6 separate regions of the Homo sapiens genome follow, and all the other regions are linked to region 2. Evidence: promoter capture Hi-C in 16 types of primary human blood cells and fetal thymus (Javierre and others, 2016). All regions are on one chromosome and are shown on one strand. Each heading gives the region's core, a stretch centred on a gene start or on the middle of the fragment in contact. The rest is flanking DNA. Distances are from core to core; before and after follow the strand shown.

Evidence for each region. Contacts are between HindIII fragments. The CHiCAGO score rates a contact against its expected background, and 5 or more counts as called.
Region 1: a fragment that was not itself captured here is called in contact with the fragment with the promoter of NPC1L1 in region 2 in 1 of 17 cell types (M0 macrophages); the score reaches 5.1 in M0 macrophages.
Region 3: a contact is called between a fragment that was not itself captured here and the fragment with the promoter of NPC1L1 in region 2, in 1 of 17 cell types (endothelial precursors). The highest score is 5.8, in endothelial precursors.
Region 4: a contact is called between a fragment that was not itself captured here and the fragment with the promoter of NPC1L1 in region 2, in 1 of 17 cell types (endothelial precursors). The highest score is 5.2, in endothelial precursors.
Region 5: a contact is called between a fragment that was not itself captured here and the fragment with the promoter of NPC1L1 in region 2, in 1 of 17 cell types (endothelial precursors). The highest score is 6.3, in endothelial precursors.
Region 6: a contact is called between a fragment that was not itself captured here and the fragment with the promoter of NPC1L1 in region 2, in 4 of 17 cell types (M1 macrophages, endothelial precursors, megakaryocytes and 1 more). The highest score is 8.1, in M1 macrophages.

The regions. Positions count from the first base shown.
Region 1 is chr7:44,382,724-44,385,618 of GRCh38, reverse strand. NUDCD3 (NudC domain containing 3) reads left to right here. Exons shown (of 6, transcript NM_015332.4): 6 at 1-2,895. Among named protein-coding and RNA genes, the nearest start is that of CAMK2B, 59 kb to the right of the region's middle. The HindIII fragment of the contact is 1,804 bases long and covers 507-2,310 here.
Region 2 is chr7:44,539,789-44,542,725 of GRCh38, reverse strand. NPC1L1 (NPC1 like intracellular cholesterol transporter 1) reads left to right here and starts at 1,396. Exons shown (of 19, transcript NM_001101648.2): 1 at 1,396-1,520; 2 at 2,384-2,937. The coding sequence starts at 1,467. RefSeq lists an enhancer at 2,103-2,724. The HindIII fragment of the contact is 6,836 bases long and covers 1-2,937 here.
Region 3 is chr7:44,335,108-44,337,972 of GRCh38, reverse strand. No RefSeq gene overlaps it. Among named protein-coding and RNA genes, the nearest start is that of CAMK2B, 11 kb to the right of the region's middle. The HindIII fragment of the contact is 2,748 bases long and covers 161-2,865 here.
Region 4 is chr7:44,307,481-44,310,432 of GRCh38, reverse strand. All of the region lies in intron 1 of CAMK2B (calcium/calmodulin dependent protein kinase II beta), which reads left to right. Among named protein-coding and RNA genes, the nearest start is that of CAMK2B, 17 kb to the left of the region's middle. RefSeq lists enhancers at 342-943, 944-1,547. The HindIII fragment of the contact is 2,433 bases long and covers 193-2,625 here.
Region 5 is chr7:44,358,507-44,361,729 of GRCh38, reverse strand. No RefSeq gene overlaps it. Among named protein-coding and RNA genes, the nearest start is that of CAMK2B, 35 kb to the right of the region's middle. The HindIII fragment of the contact is 584 bases long and covers 1,526-2,109 here.
Region 6 is chr7:44,287,606-44,290,504 of GRCh38, reverse strand. The region is part of intron 1 of CAMK2B (calcium/calmodulin dependent protein kinase II beta); the gene reads left to right. Among named protein-coding and RNA genes, the nearest start is that of CAMK2B, 37 kb to the left of the region's middle. RefSeq lists enhancers at 58-559, 1,256-1,898. The HindIII fragment of the contact is 7,022 bases long and covers 1-2,899 here.

The DNA of each region.
Region 1 (2,895 bases), core at 159-2,658, 160 kb after region 2:
TTGTTGCTGGACTCTCAGGCGAAGCTGAAGTCATTGAAGTGTGTGAAGCTCTGTGCTTGCATGAGGGCAAGCAAGGAATGGCTGTGCCTGAGGCTGCTCTGGGAAACTCCTTGCCCCTTGACCTCTTTTGAGAGCATTCACGTGGTCTTCTTGCTCATCCCCTTATAAATGTGCTTTGCCTGCCTCAGCCTCATGGTCAGAGCAGTGGAGACTGGAGCCCTGTTTGCACGTTCTAGTTGTTCGGAGAAAGCCTAGGTTCTGGGCTCAGGTCCAGATGCAGCGGGGATTCTGTTCTCTGACTGTGGCGACCTTGCTTTGGTTCTTGTTGAAGTGAACCAAGCCCGGCCACCACGCATGGCATGCTGTGCTTGGCTCCCCATAAGACGTCCTCTTTGGGTGCACGGTGTCAAAGTGTGGGCAGGAGTGGAGAGCTGGTGCCCTCAGGAGGAGACCACAGCATGTCCATCAGCTCAGCAGAGCTCGACAGCCACAAGTCCTGAGAAGCTTTGACCTTGAAGGGCTTCTGGGAGAGGAGGAATTTCTGCATGGGGCGTGAAGGCACACTGTCCCACCACAACTGAACCAGAAGAGAGTGAAGACTCCCCTCTTCCCATCCTCTGTGCCAGGTGCCAGACTGTGCTCCTTGGAACTTATGGCCCAATCTTACCTGTTCTCCAGGGACTGGTCACTGCCTCAGGACCCCCAAGCCTATGCCCTGAGCCATGGCTGCTGACTGACTCCAGCCAAGGTGCAAAGACGAGATTATGAGACAGGTCCTCAGGCCTGTGTTCCAAGTACTCACAGGGGCTCTGGGTGCCCATCGCCGGGAGTATGGTTCAGCTGCCACCGGCACTGTCCATTTGCCTGTCTGTCAAGCTCAGAGCATGGATAAGCCACACAGCAGGGCAGTGCACCCTGGCACCATGCACGGCCAGCAAGAATCAAGGCCCGCAGATGCTAAGAGGGCCTATTGTCAGGGGAAGGTCCCCGCTCCTGCACACTCTCTATGGATACTTGGGTTGTGGGGGCTCTCTTGGAGAGTAAGTTTGTGGTTTGTTTCTGGTTTACAGTGGTGGCTGACACCCCTTGTAAGAAAGCATTCCTGGGAAGTCTTCTGTGGGTCCAAACATGTTGCTCCGATCATCACAGGAGAGCAAAAGGCCCTAGATACCCCCTTTGGAATGTGAGAGTCTTGTTGTCTGATATTTGCCACTGAGCTGGTGAAGCCCCTCTAAAGAGATCTCGACCCTGGGGAGCAGAATTCTTGTCATCTATGAGGGGTCCTGAGAAAGACTTGTCATTTTTTTTCCTGGAGTTCTTCCCATTGAGGTCCTAGGATTTGCACACCACTGTCCCACAAGAGCTTTCCTGCCTAATGAAAGGAGGTCTTGTGGTGTGTGTCTCCTCTCTTCTCTATAGTTCCCGAGTTGGCCCCCATTGCAGCCCCCACCCTGTGGGTAGTCTTCCAGAAGTGATGCAGTGGTGTGAGATGCCCTACACCTTGTTATTTGGGAGACTTTGAGAGTCATTCACTTCCATGGTGACTAGTGTTTGTTTTGCCTGATTTTATATTCTGTGTTGCATTTCTCCCCACTCCCTGCCCTGCTTTAATAAACAGCAAACCAATATCTAGGAAGAATGACTGAGGGATAGTATTGGGTATTGGCCCCATGGCAGGAACAGCCACTTGCATCTGGTCCCGGTGCCACACTGCGGTGCTTGGTGTGGTTGTGGAGCCTGTCCCTGCGCGCCTTGCTCCCGTTGAGCCACGCTGTCTGGTGGGTGATTCTCTGCCCTGAGCCACCACCCTGGACTGGCCCAGTCTCCAGAGCTGGCACACCCTGCCTGTTTTCTCTTTTTAGACACAACAGCCGCAGTTTGGCCAGCCACTAAGTCCCACCAGCTGAGGTCCGAGGAAAGCGGGGTGACTCATTTCCCTTGTCCAGGGCCCGAGGAGAGTGAGGTGTCCAGCCTGCAAAGCTATTCCAGCTCCTTGGTGTTGGTTTGCAATAAATTGGTATTTAAGCAGTTCTGGGTCTGCGTGTGACATTTGCTGCTGAGACAGTTCTGTCTGTGCATGGTCATTATTGTTGCATTCTAGCCTTGAGGTCCCAGGCCAACGTACACAGCAAACACCAGCATGGGGAATTCTTAGGGGTTGTTTCCCATCTGGTCTGAATGCACTGGGCAAGATCTCAATACAGCTTTAGAAATCCTGTAAGATTTTGACCAGTGGGGAGAAAAAGAATGTAGCTATAGATCTTACATCCTTTCAAACAGGTTCTGGAATTCTGTAGTTACTGGAAAGCTTAGGGTGAGTGCAGAGTTGGGAATGATTCCACTGAAGGGCCACCTTTGCCCACCAGGCTCCAAGGCCCTCCTTGGTCTCCAGGTGCATACCTGCTGTTAACTTTGCTGAGCCCTCGCAATGGGCTTCCTCCAGGACATAACGCCGTGTCTGACACAGAAGTCTCCCAGGTGGCTGGCCACCTGCTTCTTCCTCAGTCAGATCTTTGACTCTCCTTCTCTGTGCCCACCCCATCTCCAGCCTCCTCTGACCCTGCTCACCCCTGGGGACAGGACCTAGGGGTGTGAGAAGTACTTGGCTGAATAAAGACTGTTTCAAAGGCAATCCTTAGAATTGCCTAGCATACTCCCAGGGCCAGAAATAACCCGCCAGAAAGGAGAGGCGTATTTGCCCCTGAAGAGTGCAGGAGGGAGAACAGTTGAGAAGTGTTTTGTGTGGAAATGTGTCCAAGAGGCGTCAGCTGCTGCACAGAGAACTCACTGCCCAGAACACTGCGCTTGGGGAACAGACCTCACCCCCACCTCAAATCTGCTCTCCACTGGGCCTGTTGGCAGCCAGCTCAGCTGGGGAAGGGACAGCATGACTCG
Region 2 (2,937 bases), core at 147-2,646:
AGGTCCCTGGGGGCAGGAGCAAGCTCTTGGATGCATTCTGGTCAGCTTTCTTCCATCCCCTGGCTCATTCCCCATTCACCGACTGCTGTCATCTGGGGTCATCTCCCCAATAAACTCTTTGCACTGGGATCCTTGTTTCAGGATCTGTTTCTGGAGGAACTAGATGACAACACCGGGAACAGAGGACCTAGAGAGGCAGCTTCATGGGTGGTGGGGTGTCCGCCTCTGCCGGCCAGGGACTTGGGAGCAGTGCTGGGAAGGTGCTGGATGGAGCTGTCACTCACAGGGGCAGGTCCTTGGCTGCTGACTGTCTTCCTCTCCACTATGGCTGTCTTGAGAACTTAGGGGTCAGCCTGACCCTGCCTTGGCCCCCTTCCTCTCAGCCTCTGTCTTCTCCTGCATGAGGCTGGGTGGCTCCCCTGTGAATCAGGCAGGGGTCCACAGAACACTAGAGACAGGTCCCTTCCTGCAGCTGTCTCCAGTAGGTGGCCACGCAGGAGATGTTCCCAACAAGCTGCCCTTATCTGCAGCTCAGCTTTGGTAATGGGGGCCCATTACCAAATGGGGGTAAAGGTCATGGCCCATCCTGGTGATAGTGAGAACCCAAGGTAGGCCTTGAAGATTCCTATCAGGAGGGAGCAGAAAGTGTGTACCACACCCCTGGGCCCAGGTGGAGCAGGGCTGCTGCTCAAGGCTCCCAGCCATGCTCTGTCCCTTGCTAGGGGTGACCGGTGGGACAGGCCTGGGCAAGGGACAAGAGGGAGAAGGTCGGGGGGAAGAGGGGATGAAGAGCAAAGTGAGCAAAGGAGAGTCTTCCACTATCTGGGGTCTCTGTCAACTGTCAGGCCCTAGAGTGAGCTGTTCTTTCCCTTTGCTTCCTGGAGGAGGGGACTTTTGTCACTGCGTCACTCCACCCTGCCTGCCCCTCCGTTATCAGGCTGTTAATATTAATTAACAACAGTTGCTAGGGATGACAGTGCAGAGGGTTCCTCTGAGCCCATTGCTGGCCCTGGTCCCAAGAGGGGGTAGGGCAGAGCTGGGGTCTGAGGCTGAGCCAGGGAGGGTGCGGAGGTTCCTCGGCCATGCTGAGCTCCTGAGGCCGGGTCCCAGCCAGTGCCTGGTCCCATCTGTGCCTCCAGGCCCTGGCACCAACTCCAGCAGTGTTAGGGGCTAATAGCGTGGTCTCTCCCCTAGCTGACTCAGCCCTCTGGCTTCGGTCGCTTTGGGAAGTGAGTGGAGACCCTAGCACCTGCGTGATGAGGCTCATCTAAAGCGGGGGCCTGTGGACTGGGGCCAAACAGTGGGAGTGGTGGATCATTAACCAGCAGGGCTCAGCCTCATTGGTCCCTAACCCAGTCAGGCCAGGGTTGTCATCGAAGGGGAGGAGGCTGCCTTAATGTGTGTTCAGCCCTTGGCTGTTCCTGAGGCCTGGCCTGGCTCCCCGCTGACCCCTTCCCAGACCTGGGATGGCGGAGGCCGGCCTGAGGGGCTGGCTGCTGTGGGCCCTGCTCCTGCGCTTGGTGAGTCCCAGGGCTTGGCTCCACCTCCCCTGCGGCCTCCAGTTAGGGACCCTGGGGCCAGCCGTGTACCAGGCGAGCGTTACTGGGTGACAGCAAGGGAGCCTCAGGGCCTGCGGGCTGGGCAAGTCTCTGGACACATGAGGGATGCCAGGCCCCACAGAGGAGGGGTGCAGGTGGAGGGTTTCCAGGTTACAGGCTTGAATGCACACAGGGGTGAAAGAGGCTGCTGGACTGGGGTGCTCCAAGTCCCTCCTGTCACTGGCCCTACTGTGGGGTCCAGGCCTGCAGTTGAGGGAGGTCTGAGGCAAGGAGGTGCTGGGATGGGGTTACCTGGTGAGCATCACCTAGGGAGGACTGAGCACTCTGGAGGCTGGGAGAAGATCCAGCGCTGGCACCTCTTAAGTTCCTCGCTTACTTTGTGTCTGGGAGGTGGGTGACAGCTTTTGGCCTCAAGCAGGTGGTGGTAGTGGTGGTGGGAGTCGGGGGGCCTCCTGAACAGACTCTCCATGAGAGACCCTGGCCTCTGGATGTGGTGTACAGTGTGGGGACTCAGGCTGACTTTGACGTGGGCAGAGCCCGGGACCTTGGAGTCAGCTTTGCCTCCTTACCCATCTCTGGCCTCTCCAGCATGACTTTCCTAAGCTGCAGGTCTATCAGGCCACCCCCAGGAAGAAAGGCCAGTGTTGTCACTCCAACACTGGCTGGCTGGCACATGCCTCCAGGAGGCTTCCTACTCCCCACACTCCCCGCTTCCCTGCCCCTGCTCCATGTCCTTCTTACCCTCACACCCTCCCTGGCTGCCTGCTGCCTGGATGGCACCCAGCTGTGTCAGGGCCCACGCGTGATGTTGCTGTGCTCTGCAGGCCCAGAGTGAGCCTTACACAACCATCCACCAGCCTGGCTACTGCGCCTTCTATGACGAATGTGGGAAGAACCCAGAGCTGTCTGGAAGCCTCATGACACTCTCCAACGTGTCCTGCCTGTCCAACACGCCGGCCCGCAAGATCACAGGTGATCACCTGATCCTATTACAGAAGATCTGCCCCCGCCTCTACACCGGCCCCAACACCCAAGCCTGCTGCTCCGCCAAGCAGCTGGTATCACTGGAAGCGAGTCTGTCGATCACCAAGGCCCTCCTCACCCGCTGCCCAGCCTGCTCTGACAATTTTGTGAACCTGCACTGCCACAACACGTGCAGCCCCAATCAGAGCCTCTTCATCAATGTGACCCGCGTGGCCCAGCTAGGGGCTGGACAACTCCCAGCTGTGGTGGCCTATGAGGCCTTCTACCAGCATAGCTTTGCCGAGCAGAGCTATGACTCCTGCAGCCGTGTGCGCGTCCCTGCAGCTGCCACGCTGGCTGTGGGCACCATGTGTGGCGTGTATGGCTCTGCCCTTTGCAATGCCCAGCGCTGGCT
Region 3 (2,865 bases), core at 285-2,784, 200 kb after region 2:
TTCCATCTGGTATTATTTTCCTTGCCCTGGAGGATGTCCATAGCTTTGACTGTATTACAGGTCTTCTGTCAATGAATTCTCAGTCTTGTCTAAATGTCTTCATTTCAACCTTGTTTTAAAAGGGTATTTTTGCTAGATGAGTATCTTTTTGGTTGAAGCTTTTTTCCTTTCAGCACTTTCATGATGCCATTCAATTGTTTCTGCCTCCATTGTTCCTGGTGAGAAGTTGGTAATGATTCTTATACTTGTTTCCCTGTAAGTAATGTTATACCTCCCAGCAAACCCAGCTGCTTTCAGAATTTTCTTAGGTTTTCAGAACTGTGTGTCTGAGTGTTGTTATTTTTTCTGTTTATCCTGATTTGAGTTTATTGAGACTACTGGATATGTAAATTGATGTTTTTCATCAAATTTGGGATGTTTTGGCCATTATTTCTTCACATATTTGTTCTGCCCCAATTTTACTACACCTTTTCCTTTGAGACTCTGATTACGTATGTGTTAGATTATGTGATACTATTCCACAAGGTTCGCAGGCTCTATTCACTTTCCTTCAGCCTTTTTTCCTTGTGATCTTCAGATAATGTTTATTGATCTGTCTTCATGTTTATCGACTCTTCTACTATCTCCAATCTGCTATTAAGCCTTCCAGTGAATTTTTCATTTCAATTATTATACTTTTTAGTTTTAAAATTTGTATCCAGATACCATTTTGGGGCTGAGTTTTCCTATATACTCACTGATTAAGACTATATCTTACTTTAATTATTTGGACATATTTATAATCGCCACATTACAGTCTGCTAAGCCCAACATCTGGGTCATTTTAGATTAAGTTACTGTTCTATAGTCTGCTTTATTCTTGCCTGGGCATCACATTTTCCTATTTCCTTATATACCTGGCAATTTTTTTTAAAAATTGAATACTAGATTTTGTGGCTAATATATTGTGAAACTCAAAATTGTGTTAACTTCCTCTGAAGAATGTTGATTATTGTTTTAGTAGGCAATTTAATTATTGGCAGATGACTTTGAACTTCCTTACTTAGGGTTCATGTTTTGTTACTGCAGATGCACGGAACATCCAAAATGTTTCCTAAGCCTCTCTAATTTGGCATGACTCAGTTCTTCCCTTTGTATGTGCAGCTTAGTTGTCAGTCAAGGACTTGCAGAGCTCCTGTGTGGGGTTCTGGGACCCCTGCGTGCACAGCTCCCTCTTCTCCAATGCTTGGCTCCACGCATGCCCACTGCTCCCGCTGCTCCACCTCTTCAGCTCCACATGACCCCCGTGCCCTGCCCAGACTCCGGTGCCGTGTGCCACAGTCAGAAAACTCTGTCGGGGAGCACGGAGCAATCACGGGGCTCACCTCCTAAGCGTCCCTTCCCACAGGGATCTGAGTCTTGCACTCCCTGAAAACAGCTGCCTCACGTACTTTGTCCAGATTCATGGTTATTTTTGGTGGGAGGGCTAGTCTGGTAAAACAGCTAGAAGTGGAAGTCACAAGTGATTTTGGCTGGAGAAGGTGATGCTTGTTTCCACATCCAATTTGTCCATGCCCTCCTTGACCTACTGCAACCCAGCCTCTGGCGTTTCTCTGCCTGGAGACTTCTCGACCCAGCTTCCATGACACTCTTCTCTCCTGGATTTGCCCCCGCCCCTTTACTTGCTCTTTCTTTGTCTCCTTAATCACCCCTTCCTCAAACCATCTCCTTGATGCCGCCTCCCTCAGAGACCCCTTATGAGCCCTTTTCTCTCCTCCTGTGACACTCACTAGACTGCAACTCAATCCTTCCTTCTATTGATCATTCTCCCGCCTGTGCCTTCAATTCTTCTCTTTATCTTGGCCTCTAGGCCATATTTTCACTGATACTGCAGGTAGTGGATATTTAGGAGGCCCTTAAACACTACACTCCCTAATTGGAATTTAATATCTGTACCCCATACCTGTTCCTCCTTTTCGTTTTCCCTTTATCCTGCCATTATAGAAAAATAGGAGAGATCCATGCAGCCCCAGCCCCTCCACACTCACTTCTCACTTGCAGTAGGCCACCAAGTCCTGATTCTGAAATATTATTCCAAATGGATGTCCTCTAGCCCCCCGCCAATACATGATAGCTCCTGTTAGCACTGTTAGCATGGATAGTGGCTACAAAGCTGAGGTTGCTACATATGGAGTTTCCAGGGTGTGGTAAAACAGTAGTTAGGCCTGGCCCCCTAGCAATTTCTCTCTGGGGTCAGGGGGAAGTGTTGGGGAGGGGGAAGTTGAGGAGGGGTTTAGAAGATCCCTGGGAGCTTGTGGAGGGGACCCGGACCTACCCAATTCCTGCAGAGGCCCACAGTCCTGGTAGGAGGCTCTGAGGGAGAGCCACTGGGTAGAAACCTAAGTAGGTGGGAGGCAGGAGCTGTCCATTGCCCTCCAGGCCCCAGGGGCTGTGCTAGCATGAGGGGCACCCCAGCCTGGAGGTTGAGTAGCCTGGAGGTTGAGTAGGTTGAGTAGCCCATTATCAGGGCTACTTCAGGCTCTACCTGAGTCTGCTGGCTGTCATGCAGCTGGCCCCTGTGAGGGTCTGGGCCCACTGGCCAGCCTGCTGAGACGCCAGCCGAAGTCCTCCCTCCAGGTGTGTGGCAGATGCCCCGGCCAGGCCAGAGACTGAGGGGCATTCAGAGAGGGGTCACAGAAAAAAAAGAACAAGGCCACAGCCCAACCTGGCTGTGTTCACCTGAAGGGCACCACGTGCCCATACACTTCATGGGCCATTTATTCTTTCCTCCCTGGGAGTCCCCTTTTGTGACCATTCTGTATCAGAGTCCCTAAGTCTCAGTGGCCTGCCAGGCTGGGGATGTGGAGGTGGGACATGGGGGCAGGG
Region 4 (2,952 bases), core at 160-2,659, 230 kb after region 2:
CGTAACTCTCTGGGTTTCAGCCTCCCCACTTACGAACCAGGAGGGTTGGGTCAAATGACTCTCTCCAGTCCCTTCCGGCCCCAGGAAGTGGTTCTGTGGAAGCCCCATTTCTTTCTTCTGAGACTTGCCCCAAAGCTCATCTCTCCCACATGCAGGTGACCCACAGTCTGATTACGTGGACATTTCTAAGCTTCCAAAATCCTTTTGCATTCCTTGAGAATAAAACTTTCGAAGGATGAAATCTGATTGATCTGAAACCAAACAAAAACCCGAGTACTTTAATTGATGCGCAGCTTGCAGGAAAAAAGCAGCAAGCGGGCACAAAGCGTATCCTAACTCCCAAAGCGCCCCCGCCCCCGCCCGGTCTCGGCCACCGTGCGGTTCCGCGCGTGGCTTGGTGAGCCTGGGGTCCCTGGCGGTGGCGCCCACGGCTCAGCCGGCGGAAAGGCTCTTCCCGCGTGTCCTTCGCGAGCCGCGCGGCCTCGGCCTGGTTCTGGCTGCTCAGGCGCGGTGACTACCCGCGGGCCGCCGCTCCAGGAGGGGCGTGACCGGCTCTTAAGCGCCGCCTTTGAAGGTCGCTGCAAGGCTGCGCGGACGGACGCCGAGTGCGGCCCCTACGGTGCTGGCGTCGGAATCTCTCTCGTCCCCAGTTTCTTCCGATGGGCTGGTGTCTCTGGCTTTTGGATCCACTCAGGTCCCACTGCTAGGGTGAGGGACTGACTGGTCCCCCGCGGGCGCTCCTGCCCGGGCGAGGAGGCTGTGTCCTTTCCACAGCTGGGACGCCGCGGGCGCAGAGTCCCGACCCCACCGCACTCCAGCCCACACCCGCACCCTGGGGTCAGAGGACTCCTCGGATGGGGACCGCTTCTGCCTGTCCTTCCCGAGGGCCCTCCCCATGCCCTGTGCTTAGGGGCGCGACGGAGCTGGGGACCTGATGTGGTCCAGGGCAGCCCCTGGACGTGCAGGAGGGAGATGGGGGCGCAGCAAGGGTGGGCCCCGGGGCTGGAGGCGCAGCCCAGCCCTCCTGCTCCTGCTGGCTCAGAGCTCGGGTACTCGGGCCGTCCTGAGAGCTCAGTGGCCTTAAACCCTCCGTCTGTGTCCCTTCTCCCGTCAGGCCAGGAGCGCAGATGGCCTGGGCCCCAGGTGGGTGGGCTGACCCCTGCCCCAGAGCCCGGCTTCAGCTGGGCAGCTGTGAACTGCCCCTTGTCCCAGCCCCCTGCAGGGAGGAGCACCAGCCTGGCTGTGGTGAGACCACTCTCTCCTCTCTGGGGCCTGGCCTGGTGCCCGCCCACTCCTCTGGGACAGTGCACAGCACAGTCGCAGTGGTTTGTGGAATCCGCGTTGGTGGTAGGAGCCTACTAGGCCAGGCGGGCAGTGCTGGGCAGGGCTCTGGGGTCCGTTTCAGCCTAGCCAGACCTGAGGACACAACCCCCCTGACAGGGCTAAGCCAAGCCAGGCTGGTCACCGCAGCTCAGTTCCCTCAGTGCCTTTGCTGGACCCTTCTGGGCCTTCCGGCTGGCAGGCAGTAAAGGGCAGGCTGGCCATGGACAGAGGCCCCGGGGAGGGATGGTCTGCTCAGCCCCTGGTCTCTTGTGAGGAGAGACGAGGGGCTCGCACACCGCCTGATGTGCAAGGCCTGCTGCTGGGCAAAGTGCCTTCTCTGTGCCTCATGGCCAGTCTTGGGGCTAGTGGTCTGCATTCCCTGAGTAGGACGGGGCCTTGCCCTCCGGACAAGGTGGGATATGGGGGGCCCGCACCTCCCTCTCTCTGTAATGTCACTCCTGCCTTCATCTTCCCAAAGTAGACACGTTGGTGGAACCTTGTCCTGCCCTCCGGGTGTCCCTGTGGATCCAGCTCAGAGAGGGCAGCAGTGTGGTTCTGAAGGGGATGACCAAGGAAGTGGGGGGATGCACAGGAGGAGGGCCAGCAGCTCCCAATCAGGGAAGGCAAGCTGTGAGGAGAGGAGGGGGACATGGGATGCGAGCCGGGGGCAGGGGGATGGGGACCCAGGAGCAGGACACCATGCTGGGCGCCACCACACACAGGCATGGGGCAGGCCCTGTCTCTCTTCCCCCAGCCACCTGGGCCTTCCTATCTGGCATCCTGGCTCCACCTACCATGGGCACTTCTTTCATCCCACAGCTCAGCTTGTCCCTGGAATTTCTCAGGTGAGAGTCAGGATGGCAGCTCCGGCAATTAGCCATCTGCACATCTGGATTTTAGGGGCAAAGAGGAGAAGAGACGTGCCTTGTGCTTAAAGTGTTCACATTCCTGTTAGGGAACAGAACAAGAACGTGCCTGCCCCATGCCTCCTGGGCACATCCCGTGTGGGTGAGGCCACAGCAGGCCCTCCCAGCATTTGGGCTACATGAGGTGAATGGGTGGTTTCCCTCATATGGAAAGAGCTCCTATAGGTCAAAAAGGCCTGGAATCCCAGCGCTTTGGGAGGCCCAGGTGGGAGGATCACTTAGGCTAGGAGATCAAGGCTGCAGTGAGCTGCAGTCACACCACTGCACTCCAGCCTGGGTGACAGAATGAGGCCCCCCAGTTAAAAAAAAATGGCCAAAACCCCAGTTGAAGTACGGATGACAGCAGCAACAGCTCACAGAAAAATAAATGAAAGCTTTCAGTGGGTAAAAACAGGAAAACAAATTCAACAAGGGTCAGCTCTCAGCGTTCCCCTCAGAGTTCCCACAGGCTCCTTCCAGGTGGCCCTAGGCTAATGGGCCACCTCCACCAGACTCTGGCTAAGCGCATCTCATGAGGCCAGGACCAAGGCCCTAGGACACAGGCACCGTAGCCTTGTCCCAGGGAGTAGGTTGGCCCCTGATGTGCGTGACAGCCTCTCCATGTGGGCAGGGGAGGAATTCCAAAGATGCAGTGAGCCCTGGCAGACCATTCCCAGTGCCAGGGGCCAGATGGCGCCAATGACACAGGAGGCCCCAGGCTGAG
Region 5 (3,223 bases), core at 568-3,067, 180 kb after region 2:
AGCTCTACTAGTTTTAATTTATGTATTTTGAAGCTCTATTATTTGGTGCATATACATATACATTTAGTATTGCTATACCTTCTTGGTGGATTGATCTTGTTATCATTAAATAACATCTATTTACCTGGTGGCCAAGATGGCTGACTAGAAGCAGCTAGTATGTGCTGCTCTTATGGAGAGGAATGGAAGGGACAAGTAAATACAACACCTTCAACTGAAACATCCAGGTACATGCATTGGGACTAATCAAGGAAACAACTCAACCCATGGATAATGGAGAAAAGCAATGCAGGATAATGGCCCACCGGGGAGTGATATGGAGTTGGGGGAACCTCCCCAACCTAGGGAAGCATTTAGTGAATATGCAACCCTGGGAACCCACACTTCTGCCATGGATCCTTCCATGGAGTCAAGGAGATCCCCTCATAAACTCACTCCACCAGGGCCTTCAGTCTGACACACAGAGCTACATGGAGTTTCAACAGAGCAGCCACTCAGGCACATGCAGAGACCCCGGAACCTTAGATACCTGGATTTTCTGGGCTCCCCGGCAAAAGCAGCTGCAACTCCAGCAAAATGGGAGGCTAGACCCCCATACATATCCCTAGGAAAGGGGCTGAATCCCGGAGGCTGAGCAGTGACAGTCTGCAGGCTCCCTTTCCATGGCACCTCACAGGATAAGACCCACTGGCTTAGAACTCCAGCCAGCCACCTGTAGCAGTGTTACACCTCCCTAAGATGGAGCTCCCAGGGGGAGGGGCAGGCCGCCATATTTGCTGTTTGGCCAACTTAGCCATTCCAGCCTTCAGACTTTGGAAGGTCCAAGGCAACTGTGGGCTAAATCAGATCCCCAGCATAGCACCGTAGCTCTATGAAAACATGCCAGACTGCTTTTTTAAAGCAGGTCCCTGATCCCATCCTCACTGGATGGGAACTCCCAAGTGGGGTCTCCAGCTATCCCCACCAGTGTCCCTTGGCTATCAGAGATTTCCAACCTCCCTGAGATGGAGTTCCCAGAGGGAGGGGCAGGTCTTCGTCTTTGCTGTTTGGGTGACTTAGCCGTTCTGCCCTTTGGGCTTTGGAGAGTGCAAGGTGACTGGGGGCTGGAGTGGATTCCCAGCACAGCACAGCTGCTGTATGAAAACATGGCCAGACTGCTTTTTAAGGCTGGTTTTTGATCCCATTCCTCCTCACTGGGTGGATTTCCCAACCAGGGTCTCCAGCCACCTCCTACAGGTGCGTTTGGGCTGGCAACAAGTCCGTACCTCTCTGAAACAGAGCTCCCAGAGGGAGGGGCAGGCTGCCATCTTTGCTGTTTCACAGCCTTCACTGTTGATACCTCCAGGTGCTGGAAAATCTGAGGTACCTAGGGACTGGAGCAGACCCCCAGCATATTGCAGCAGCCCTATGGAAAAGTGGCCAGACTGTTAGGTGGATGCTTGTTCCCACAGCTCCTCACTGGGTGGATCCTCAAGACCTGGGCCTCTAGCCACCTGCTGCTGGGGCTATCAAACCAGTGGAAGCTTTGCAACTTCCTGGACAGAGACCCTATGGGCAACTGAAAGCCTCTCTGCCACTGCCTCTGTAGTAGAACTGCCCTTGCCACCCTCAAACTAATGAAAGAGTAAAGACCATAAGTGCTTTATCCACACCTCTAACAAGGTACAGTTGACCCAAGAAGAGGAGGCCAGTCTGTCTCCCATGGGTTCCACCTCCCCATCCCCACTCATCACCAGACCAGGAACCCCCAGCTTGGGACCATAGCACAGACCCTCCATCCTGGGATGATTGCACTGAATGACTGCTGACTTACATCTCTCTGGGGCGGAGCCCCCAGGAAACAAGCAAAAGACTGTTGGCCACAACCACTACTAAGATCCCTTCCTCTGCTGCCTCCAAGGTGGGGGAGGAACATAAATCCTGAGATTGCCCCAGAACTGCAGCAGGCAGCCCAGGAGTGCCAAGCCATGATCCAGCACTCAGAGGGGAGAGGAACCCATGCTTTCAGAGCATTGAAACTGTGAGGAAACAGGGGAGCCACACAACCCAGCAAGTGTCTACCAACTGACCAATACACCAAAGCACCACCTACTGGATCACTCCAAAGCTTCAACACCAAAAATACCTCGCTAACATACCTCTTGTGAAACCAAGAACAAGAAGTCAGCTTCAAATAAAGACCCTGCACAAAGCCTTGGCCCTGTGAAAACATCCAGAAAAGAAGTTTATTGACTACTCAATCTACACTGCAGCTAAAGGAACACCCACATGCAGAGATGAGAAAGAACCAATGCAAGAACTGTGGTAACTCAAATGGCCAAAGTGTCATATGTCCTCCAAACAACCGCACCAGGTCTCCAACATGAGTTCTTAGCCAGGCTGAGCTGGCTGAAATGGCAGAAATAGAATTCAGAATATGGCTAGGAATGAAGATCATTGAGATTCAGGAGAACAGCAAAACCCAATCCAAGGAAACTAATAATCACAATAAAATGATACAGGAGCTGAAGGATGAAACAGCTAGTATAAAAAGAATGTAACAGATCTGACAGAGCTGAAAAAACACAATACAAGAATTTCACAATGCAACCCAAGTATTAATAGCAGAATAGACCAAGCTGAGGAGAGAATCTCAGAATTCAAAGAATAGCTGTCTGAAATAAGATAGACAAAAATAAAGGAAAAGGAATGAAGAGGAATGAACAAAACCTCCAAAAAGTATGGGATTATGTAAAGAGGCCAAATCTATGAATCACTGGCATCCCTGAAAGGGAGGGGGAGAAAGCAAACAACTTGGAAAACATATTTCAAGATATCACCCATGACAATGTCCCCAACCTTGATTGAAATGTCAAGAGTCAAATGCAGGAAATACAGGGAACTTGCAAGATTCTACACAAGAACATCATCCCAAGATACATAATCATCAGATTTTCCAAGGTCAAAATGAAAGAAAGAATGCTAAGGGCAGCTAGAGGGAAGGGGCAGGTCACCTACAAATGGAACCCCATCAGGCTAACAGTGGACCTCTTAGCTGAATCCCTACAAGCCAGAAGAGATTGGGGGCCTATATTCAACATTCTTAAAGAAAAATATCTTCAACCAAGAATTTTATATCCTGCCAAACTAAGCTTCCTAAGCAAACGGGAAATGAGATTCTTTCAGATAAGCAAATGTTTAAGGGATTCATTACCAGCAGACCTGCTTTATAAGAGAACTTGAA
Region 6 (2,899 bases), core at 269-2,768, 250 kb after region 2:
CAGGCAAGAAAGGACGTAGGTGGCCTGAGGCTGGTTTCAGAACAACCCTTTATTAATTTACAGCAGGAAATAAAGCTGTCGGCCTGAGAGTGCTTCTGTGGCCGGCCCAGACTCTTCCAGAAGGACCTGCTCTGGAGGACCTGAGCGGGGAGGGGGCTGTGCTTGCTACTAGGGAGACAGCGCCTGGCCCGCGTGGGGAGCGTCAGACGCAAAAACTGGATGGGAAATTTCGATTTACAAAACAGGTCAGCCAGGCTTGGATCTTTTGCTTTTACTCAGGGCTCCTCAGCTTCTTTCTAAAATTCTAAAATTTAAGAACTTCCTGGAATTGCGTGTGGCCTTGCTGTGGATTGAAGGGGTCCCATGGCCCTTGGCTGTCACTGTTGTTGGGAATCTGAGGGGGCGTTTCCAGCCTATTCTGCAACATCTGAGTGAGGAGAGTGCACATGTGTGTGTGCGCATGCCTGTGAACTGCAACCGACCGGTGAGGCTCAGGACTGATGCAGGCAGCCCTGGCTGGGGTGGCACAGGCCCCAGCACTTGGGGAGGAAACTGGATGGTGTGGACATGGGCTGCGGGAGGCAGAGAGAGGAACAGGGAGAGAAGCTGCTGCCTCTGAAATTTCCACTAAGGGAACGGAATCCAAGCGTTGAGTGGGCCGACTCAGAGGCCGCTTTGATCCTGCGTGGCCCAGCGCTGCCCTGCGGGAGCTCAGCAGCCTGTCATGGGGATCACATGCACGATCACTCCAGGCGCCTGGGTCCCTGCCTATGCTGTCCTGGGAGCAGAATCACACTGCCGGCTCTTTCTGGATGCCGGATACTGTGTTGTGGCTGGTACCTGTGTCACCTCATTCTGTGTAGGGGGACAATCACTGCCCCCTTACTGATGGAAGTCACCAGCCCTTGTGAGGTGGCTGGGGAGGGCACCTGAGCAAGGTCTGCGTGACCACACGGGATAGGCTGTGGGGACGCAGGGTCCGACCTTCCCTCCCTGGTGTCGTTACCAAGTGTCTTAACTGGCACCCCAAGAGCCGGTAATCTTGGTAACCCCCAGTCTTCACCAGTGAAGGTGAGGCATGAGAGGGCCCTAGAGGGGCTGTTGTGTGGTCCTGCTGGGGGCAAGGCGAAATTTCCTTCCTGCTCTCTGGGCCCTCCCACAAACTCCAGCCATGCTGCTCAGGGACACACCTCCTCCCAGCTCTCCGGGGAGAGGTGCGGGCAGCTGGCGAGGGCCGCAGTGCGACCAGCATGACTTAGTGGAGAGTGGGGCAGGCCACAGAGCCACCTGCGGTGGGGAGCTCCGTGGGGGTTGGTGGGAGCCACGGATAGTCAGCAACTGGTGGCCGGTTGCAAGTGGGGACTGGAGGGAAGAGGCAGGCACGAGGGTTGGGGGGGCAGCTCAGAGCTGGGAAAGCCTGGGCCTGCACCAGCAGTCTGTTGTGGAGCCAGAGGAGCCATAGACTGGATGCGAGGAGGAGACAGAGGCGGATGGGGCATCCTGCAGACAATGACGCTTCCTGCTGCCTCTGCCTGTGAAGCCCCGAGAGCCCACAGGATGCCTGTGAAACACCGACTGCCCTGGGTGGCTGCAGTCAGGGGAGGTACACTCAGCACCTCTCCTCGCAGGTGGCCTTCACCCCATTATCGCGCGAGAAGCCTGAGCCCCCCTGCAATGAAGGAGGTGCCCGAGCAGGTGCAGTCGTAGAAACAGGCCATGTAGTTCCGGGCCTCCATTCCCACCCAGAACTAATTCTTCCCCTTCTCTCTCAGGACAGGTTTCCCTGGTACTGTTGATCCCACTGTAAATGAGACAGGGTTCAGAGCCTTCCACAAAGCAAGGACTCAAAGAGTATTTTCTTGTTTTAATTAGCTTTATTTGATTTTAAAAGCCCCATAATATGCTTGGTGCCCGGGGGCCTCATGATCTGAACAGGTTATTCAAAATCGCTTTCAGCCTGGCTCAGTAGCATTCGTCCCATGCAGGCCATCATGCGGGCAACCTTGATGTCTAGATGCAATTCGCAGCCCACAGGAACAGCGACCTGGGATCCCGTAGGAGCACCTCTTCCGGCTTTTTCCTGCCTTTGCCCCAACCCGCTGTGCCCTTACAGCTGCCTGGGATGGTCCACACCCTAGAGGCAGGCGTGTGATCAGCCTATGCACCTGCAGTGTCATCCAAGGCATTCTTTGCTGAGCCCAAGGACCATGCTGCCGCCTGCTAGGCCCGCCCGTGCTTCCAGATAAGAAGACCGGGCTTCGAGCCTCTGTGCGCTGGTGGAGAGGCGGGGAGCCTAAGCCCCAGGCCTTATTTACTTGGGGTACCCCCTGGCTCTGACCAGGGCCTTGTGGCCTCAGTGTAGCACAGACCCATCTACCCACAGGCCCTGGAAGCCTTGGTGGGTCTCCCCTCCTGCTGGGACACTCTAGGGGCCGCTCTTCCTGTACTGCTGGGCTGGACAAGCCCTGAGGCCCAGCAACTCCATGCTCCACAGCCCACTGTGTTGCTTGTAGGTCAGTTCTGGCTCCTATATCACAGCCCAGGCACTGTGCCTGATACCTAGGTCCAGAGTATAGGGCACTCTGCCCATAGAGAGCCATTGGAAGGGGGAGTGGCAAAAGTGAACAGGTAGATAATTAAGTAAACTAACCTAAGGAACGTGGGAGGTGCAATATCTAAAGACCAAGCTGACTTTCTGTGTGAGCTGGGAAAGCGGGGAGCTGTTTGCATTGGATCTTGAAGGACGCATAGGAGTTTGCCCTTGGCAGCAGGGACAGGCTTATGATACAGATCCAGGCTCTTTGTCGGTGTTGTCTCTCAATGTTTATAAACACTGGCGGGCAAGCACTGAGTCGCAAGGGAGTATGGTGATGGTGCTGGCTTCTTTGCTCTTGGAGAA